Linked DNA regions of Homo sapiens: region 2 is linked to region 1. The links are contacts of gene promoters, found by promoter capture Hi-C in human tissues and cell types (Jung and others, 2019). All regions are on one chromosome and are shown on one strand. The core of a region is centred on a gene start or on the middle of the fragment in contact, and the rest is flanking DNA. Distances in the headings are between cores, read along the strand shown.

Region 1 (3,459 bases), core at 1-2,500:
GAAACCCACTCCAGAGGGAAGGGAGAAGGGTGATGAGGCAGCGGCTGGCTCCTCAAGCTGAGGGCTCCTCAAGCTGAGGGCTCCTCACCTGGGACAGGGGATCCTCATTCAACAGGGAAATGACTGAGCTGAAAGTCTCGTTTCTGTTGTCTGGATGGTTTTGGGACAGAGAAGAAATCATGGCTGAGCCCTGAGTGAAGGCTGACTTGGGCTCCCCAGCACCTGGAACCTTGGTGTCCACTGGGCCACAGTCCTTCCGCAGCAGCACGTGTCTTCCGAGCTCATCCAGGACTTGGAAGCTGCAGAGCTGGAGGGAGAGGAAGAAGCTGCTCTGGGGGCCTGGATCTGGATCTGGGGAGCAAGATCTGGCCAAGATGGAGCTGGAGGCTCCTCAGATGAGAGCCACCCCTAAGGCAATCACCCCATCACAGTGGACAGTGAGGCACGGCCTGCACCGGGGCATCCTCCCCTTCATAGCATCTTGGTTTCCAGCCCTCGGGGCCTGGGAAGTGGCTCAAGGTGGGGCAGCAGCTACCTCAGATCCCTGCGTCTTGACCTGACCCGTCATCATCCAACTGCTGCTTTACTCGGCCTCGGGGCGGGGAACCCCAAGAGCCTCATCACTCACCAGGGTTTTCTTGGACACGGGGAGCCGGCACACCATGGGGTCGTTGCAGGGTGGCTCCTCCAGGGTGGCCTCCAGGGAGTACAGCGACCCCTGACCCGCCTGGAGAGAGGAGTAGGTGAGGCGGGCACAGTCGGCCCTTGACGGCGCCCAAGGCCCCGCCCGTGCGGCGCTGCCCATTCCCCATCACCAGAGATCGGTTCGTCCAGCGGGCAGGCCCCATCCCAATGTTAGGTCAAAGCTCCTATCCCTTGGACCCGGGCCTGGCGCCCCCGCCCCCGGCGCGTCCTCACCCGGCGGACGCGGCCGCGCACAAGGCCCAGCACGGCCCGCGTCCCCGCAGCCCGGCCGCGGTTGAACATCTCCAGCGCGAAGCGGGTGGGCGCCAGCAGCTCCGGGGACGGCGGCCCCCAGGCCTGAAAGCTGGCGGCTCGGGGCTGGGCGGGGGCGGCCACTGCGCCCGGGAGCAGCCCCAGCAGCGACAGGAGCTGCAGCCAGGGCGCCATGGCGAGGGCGAAGCCGGCGGCCCGGACCCAACAGACGCTCCACCGACCCACCGGGTACCGAGCCCGCGGCCAGCGGGGCCTGAGTCCTCCCTCCAGCGGGGCGACGGCACGCCGACCAATGGGCGCTGGTTTGCGGCGCCTGCGCGTTCTCTTGTTTACAGGAGGCACGTGGGGCGCGCAGGGTAGGGAGAGCGGGAGGCTGCTGGCCTGAGGCTAAAGCTAGTCACTGACCTCTATCACGTGCTTGTTATATGTTAGGCATGATATGCCAGCTCCTTTTATTCGGCGTAGCAATCTCTGAAGTAGGTGCTATCCCCATCGTACAGTGGAGGAAACGAGGCTTGGAGAGATTAAATGGCGTGGCCGGGCTCTGTGACTCAGCCCTGTAATCCCAGCACTTTAGGAGGCCAAAGCGGGTGGATCACCTGAGGTCAGGAGTTTGAGACCAGTCTGGCACACGTGGTGAAACCCTGTGTCTACTAAAAATACAAAAAAGAGCTGGGCGTGGTGGTGGGCGCCTGTAATCCCAGCTACTTGGGAGGCTGAGCCAGGAGAATCACTTGAACCCAGGAGGCAGAGGTTGCAGTGAGCTCAGATCGTGCCATTGCACTCCAGCCCAGGCGACAAGAGCAAAACTCCGTCTCAAAAAAGAGAGAGAGAGAAATATTAAGTGGCTTGCCAAATATCTGGTAAGGAATTGAGCTAAACTTAAATCCAGGCAGTTGGCTTCTGAGCCTGGGTTTGCAGCTTGATCGCCTCTTTCAGGCCCCTCTTCTCAACAGCGAGATGGCAGGTAATTTTTTGAGTGCTGGCAGCGTCTCAGGCTGTTGTGAGGTTCAAATGCAATCATGCAAGCATTCAGTAGCCACTAAGGCAGGGTGCACAGGGTTGAGACTGTCCCTTGAAGCATTCACCTGCTGTGTTCCAGGGTCTACCAAGGGAAAGCATGCACAGATGCATTACAGGAATAGTGCTGCGTTCTTGGAGCTCACAGTCTAGAGAGAAGAACGACAGATGGGCTGGGTGCAGTGTCTCACGCCTGTAATCCCAGCACTTTGGGAGGCCGAGGCGGGCAGATCACCTGAGCTCAGGAGTTCGAGACCAGTCTGGCCAACGAGGTGAAACCCCGTCACTACTAAAAATATTTTTAGGCCGGGCGCAGTGGCTCACGCCTGTAATCCCAGCACTTTGGGAGGCCAAGGTGGGCGGATCACGAGGTCAGGAGATGGAGACCATCCTGGACAACATGGTGAAACCCTGTCTCTACTAAAAATACAAAAAAATTAGCTGGGCATGGTGGCACGTGCCTGTAATCCCAGCTACTCAGGAGGCTGAGGCAGGAGAATCGCTTGAACCAGGGAGTCAGAGGTTGCAGTGAGCTGAGAGCGCACCATTGCACTCCAGCCTGGTAAGACAGTGAGACTCCATCTCAAAAAAAAAAAAAAATTGAAACTGCCTTTGCAAAATTATGACAGTAAGAGAAATCTGACATGGCTGACTGCATCTTGCTTTCTAGCCTCACAGGCTGGCTGTCTTCACTCATTCCTGGGCATGGGCCAAGGTAACTTTTGGATAAATTTAGCTTATACTTTAAATTAGAATACGCCTTCCTGAAAACTAAACCACCCTTGTAAAACTAATGAAAGGCCACCAAGTTAGGAGGATGAGAGGGGCCTGAATTCTACTAAGATGTAGGCATAGTTAAAGGATTACCAGCCATTGTTCTGGAAGTCACAAGATTTGCAACTTTGCCAGTTACTCCTGTAATTAACATCACTATCATGGAATGTAAGACTGATCTTTTGAGCTATCTCTTCCAGGCTTTTGCATTTGTGACTATGGAATGGCCCCACACTGACGTGTGACTCCACCAGTCCTGTGACCCCTACCCAGAAGCAGACTCAGTGCAGGAGGGCCATTTTCCACACTACTATGATTTCATTCCCAAGCAATCAGTAGCACCCATATCCTAGCCGCCTGCCTACCAAACTATCTTTGAAAAACCCCGACCTCCAAGCCTTCAGTGAGACTGATTGAGTAATAACCCTGTCTCCTGTGTGGCATGGCAGGTCTTGTGTCAGTTAAACTCGTTCTTTTCTGCAATGCTATGGTCTCTGAATTGATTTTGTTTGTGCAGTAGGCAGGAAGAACCCATCTGGGAATTACAAGATCATCTAGTTCAAACCAGAATTGCTACAGCAGCAGAGGTCTAGAGAGACAAAGTGACATTCCAGCTACTCAGACATTAGTGCTGGAGCCAGAGTGGAGCCATCTCAATGCTTCCAGTTGCCAGCTGAGGTCTGAGAGGAGAGGATCTGAGGGATTGCA
Region 2 (3,433 bases), core at 244-2,743, 320 kb after region 1:
TGGGGATGTGGCCTTAAATAAACAAACAAAAAGGCAGATTACCTGGTGTCTCCGAAAGAATGAAGAGGAGATGGCAACGCACAACTTGTCTGGGGATGAACATCAACTCCAGGAAAATGAAAAGTTAATGCCACCATAGTAGACACTCTGTATTTTCAGATGTGAATATTAACTTAATGTTAACAATGTAAAATCTTGGCTGGGTGCAGTGGCTCACACCTGTAATCCCAGCACTCTGGGAGGCCCAGGCGGGCAAATCACAAGGTCAGGAGTTCGAGACCACCCTGACCAACATGGTGAAACCCCGTCTCTACTAAAAATACAAAAATTAGCCGGGCGTGGTGGTGCATGCCTGTAATCCCAGCTACTCAGGACGCTGAGGCAGGAGAATCGCTTGAACCCAGGAGGCGGAGGTTGCTGTGAGCCGAGATCGCGACACCGCACCCCAGCCTGGGTGACAGAGTGAGACTCCATCTCAAAAAACAAAACAAAACAAAAATGTAAATTCTGAAAATGTACTTAAAAGTGTTTCTATATAACCATGCAGGGTGAAGGGAGGGAAAGTGGGTACATGTGTGGGGCAGGGTTTGAGATGGGGAGGGCAGTAAAAGTGAGCTCAATCTTCCATCAAAGGAGACCACTAAACAGAGCAATGCCGTGGGGAACAGGAGTTGCAGGGCAGCCTCTGGGAGGCACTCATGGGGAGGGCAGTGGGACAGGGGTGGCGGGGGCAAATGAGCCTCAGGGTACAATCTGACTTTCAGAAGTGTCCACATGTATTATTATTATTATTTGAGAGCGTCTCACTCTGTCACCCAGGCTGGAGTGTAGTGGCATGATCTCGGCTCACTGCAATCTCCGCCTCCCAGGTTCAGGCAATTCTCCCACCTCAGCCTCCCGAGTAGCTGGGATTACAGGCACCCGCCACCACGCCCAGCTAATATTTTTGTATTTTTAGTAGAGATGGGGGTTTCACTATGTTGGCCAGGCTGGTCTCCAACTCCTGACCTCAAGTGATCCGCCTGCCTTGGCCTCCCAAAGTGCTAGGATTACAAGCATGAGCTAATGTGCCCAGTCTCACATGTATTATTTTGATAAAATAAAAGTTAAACTTACCAAAAGGGAAAAAAAACCACACTCTGCAAACAGGTGCAGTTCCTTTGTGATTCTTCCTAATACCATTCCGGGTCCTTTTCTCCTTTTCTCCCAGGGGGCCCACAATGCAGAGTTACTACTTCCCCTTTGTTGATTTCACCTGGATATTTGTGTGCCCATAACCATATGTTCTAATTTTTTTCATAAATGATATAATCATTTTAACTTGTTTTACCCAATATATATTTGAAATCTCTCCATGTTAATACAGTAGACCTACTTCACGAATGACTGCACAATGTTCTATTAGACATATCGCAATCTGTACATGCCGAATGAGGGACTGCTATTGCCTGAATGTTTGTGTCCACACCAAATTCCTATGCTGAAACCCTAACCAATGTGGCAGTGTCAGAAGGTGGGGCCTCGGGGAGAAGATTAGCGGCTGGTAGCAGAGCCTTCCTGAATGGGATTAGAAGCCTCACAGAAGAGATCAGACAACTCTGTTTCCCCTTTGTCCGTGAGAACACAGTGATCTATGAACCGGGCAGTGGGCCCTCACCAGACGCTGAATCTGCTGACACTTGATCTTGCACTTTCTGGTCTTTAGGACTGTGAGAAATGCATTTCTGCTGTTTAATGAACCTATGGTATTGTGTTATAGCAGCCCAGACTAAGGCAGTGACAAATAGATTGTTTCCCATTTTTTTTTTTTTTTTTGAGATGGAGTTTCACTCTTGTTGCCTGGGCTGGAGTGACAGAGCGAGACTCCATCTCAAAAAATAAATAAATAAATAAGGCAGTTTCATCTTTTTTTTTTTTTTTTTGAGATGGAGTCTCACTCTATCACCCAGGCTGGAGTGCAATGGCGTGATCTTGGCTCAGTGCAACCTCTGCCTCCCAGGTTCAAGCGATTCTCCTGCCTCAGCCTCCCGAGTAGCTGGGACTACAGGCATGTGCCACCATGCCCGGCTAATTTTGTATTTTTAGGAGAGATGGGTTTTCTCCATGTTGGTCAGGCTGATCTCGAACTCCACTCCCAACCTCAGGCGATCCACCCACCTCAGCCTCCCAAAGCGCTGGGATTACAGGCATGAGCCACCTCCCCCGCCGCGGTTGTTTCCAATTTTTAGCAATTAAGAACTGTGTTGTATAGGCTGACAAAATGATCATTGTTGAAGCTGGGCGACAGGTACATAGAGTTCATTATACTATTTGCTCTATTTTTGTGTCTATATAAAAGTAGTCGATTAAAAGTGTTAAAAAATGAATAACTTTGACCCCATATAGAAAATGTGCAAAAATTTCTCTAGGACATATACCTAGAATTGGAATTGCTGCGTCAGACAATAGGCATGGGGTTTTTTTTTGTTTTTGTTTTTGTTTTCAGAGTCTCGCTCTGTCGCCCAAGCTTGAGTGCAGTGGCGCGATCTCGGCTCACTGCAACTTCCGCCTCCCAGGTTCAAGTGATTCTCCTGGCTCAGCCTCCTGAGTAGCTGGGATTACAGATGTGCGCCAACATGCCCAACTAATTTTTTTTGTATTTTTAGTAGAGACAGGGTTTCACCATGTTGGCCAGGCTGGTCTTTACCTCCTGACCTCAGGTGATCTGCCCACCTTGGCCTCCCAAAGTGCTGGGATTACAGGCATGAGCCACTGTGCCCACCTAATAGGCAAGTTTTTTTGTTTTTTGTTTGTTTTGTTTTGTTTTGTTTTTTTGAGACAGAGTTTTGCTCTTGTTGCCCAGGCTGGAGTACAATGGCGCGATCTCAGCTCACCACAACCTCCGCCTCCCGGGTTCGAGCGATTCTCCAGCCTCAGCCTCCCGAGTAGCTGGGATTACAGGAATGCACCACCATGCCCGACTAATTTTGTATTTTTAGTAGAGACGGGTTTCACCACGTTGGTCAGGCTGGTCGTGAACTCCTGACCTCAGGTGATCCACCCACCTCAGCCTCCCAAAGTGCTGGGATTACAGGCGTGAGCCACCGCACCCAGCCAATAGGCAAGTTTTTAATATCAATATTGCCAAATAAGTCTCAAGGTAGTTATCCTAATAATTTACACAGCCACTAGAAATACAACAGAATGTCTATCTCCCCACATCTTTACCAACTGTTATATTGTTAGACTTTGATTTCTGTCAACCTTGTAGTATAAAATGGTATCATTTTAATTTTCAGTCCCCTGATTATTACTGAAGTTGGCTATTTTCTTATGATTGTGGATATATTTTTAGGTTTTTCCTTTTGTGAACTGCCTGTTCACATCATTTGCCCACTTTTCTGCTGGGCTGGTTGTCTTTTTCTTACTGAGCTGTAATAAATCTTTATGTATT

The links. Contacts are between HindIII fragments. The study calls those that stand out against the background at their distance.
Region 2: a contact is called between a fragment that was not itself captured here and the fragment with the promoter of CTSF in region 1, in 1 of the 25 tissues and cell types used here (mesenchymal stem cells).

Annotation. Positions count from the first base shown.
Region 1 is chr11:66,567,356-66,570,814 of GRCh38, forward strand. CTSF (cathepsin F) reads right to left here and starts at 1,251. Exons shown (of 13, transcript NM_003793.4): 1 at 919-1,251; 2 at 629-727; 3 at 89-307. The coding sequence starts at 1,131. RefSeq lists silencers at 1,300-1,369, 2,743-3,037. The HindIII fragment of the contact is 11,953 bases long and covers 1-3,459 here.
Region 2 is chr11:66,888,597-66,892,029 of GRCh38, forward strand. All of the region lies in intron 3 of PC (pyruvate carboxylase), which reads right to left. Among named protein-coding and RNA genes, the nearest start is that of LRFN4, 33 kb to the left of the region's middle. The HindIII fragment of the contact is 4,816 bases long and covers 1-3,433 here.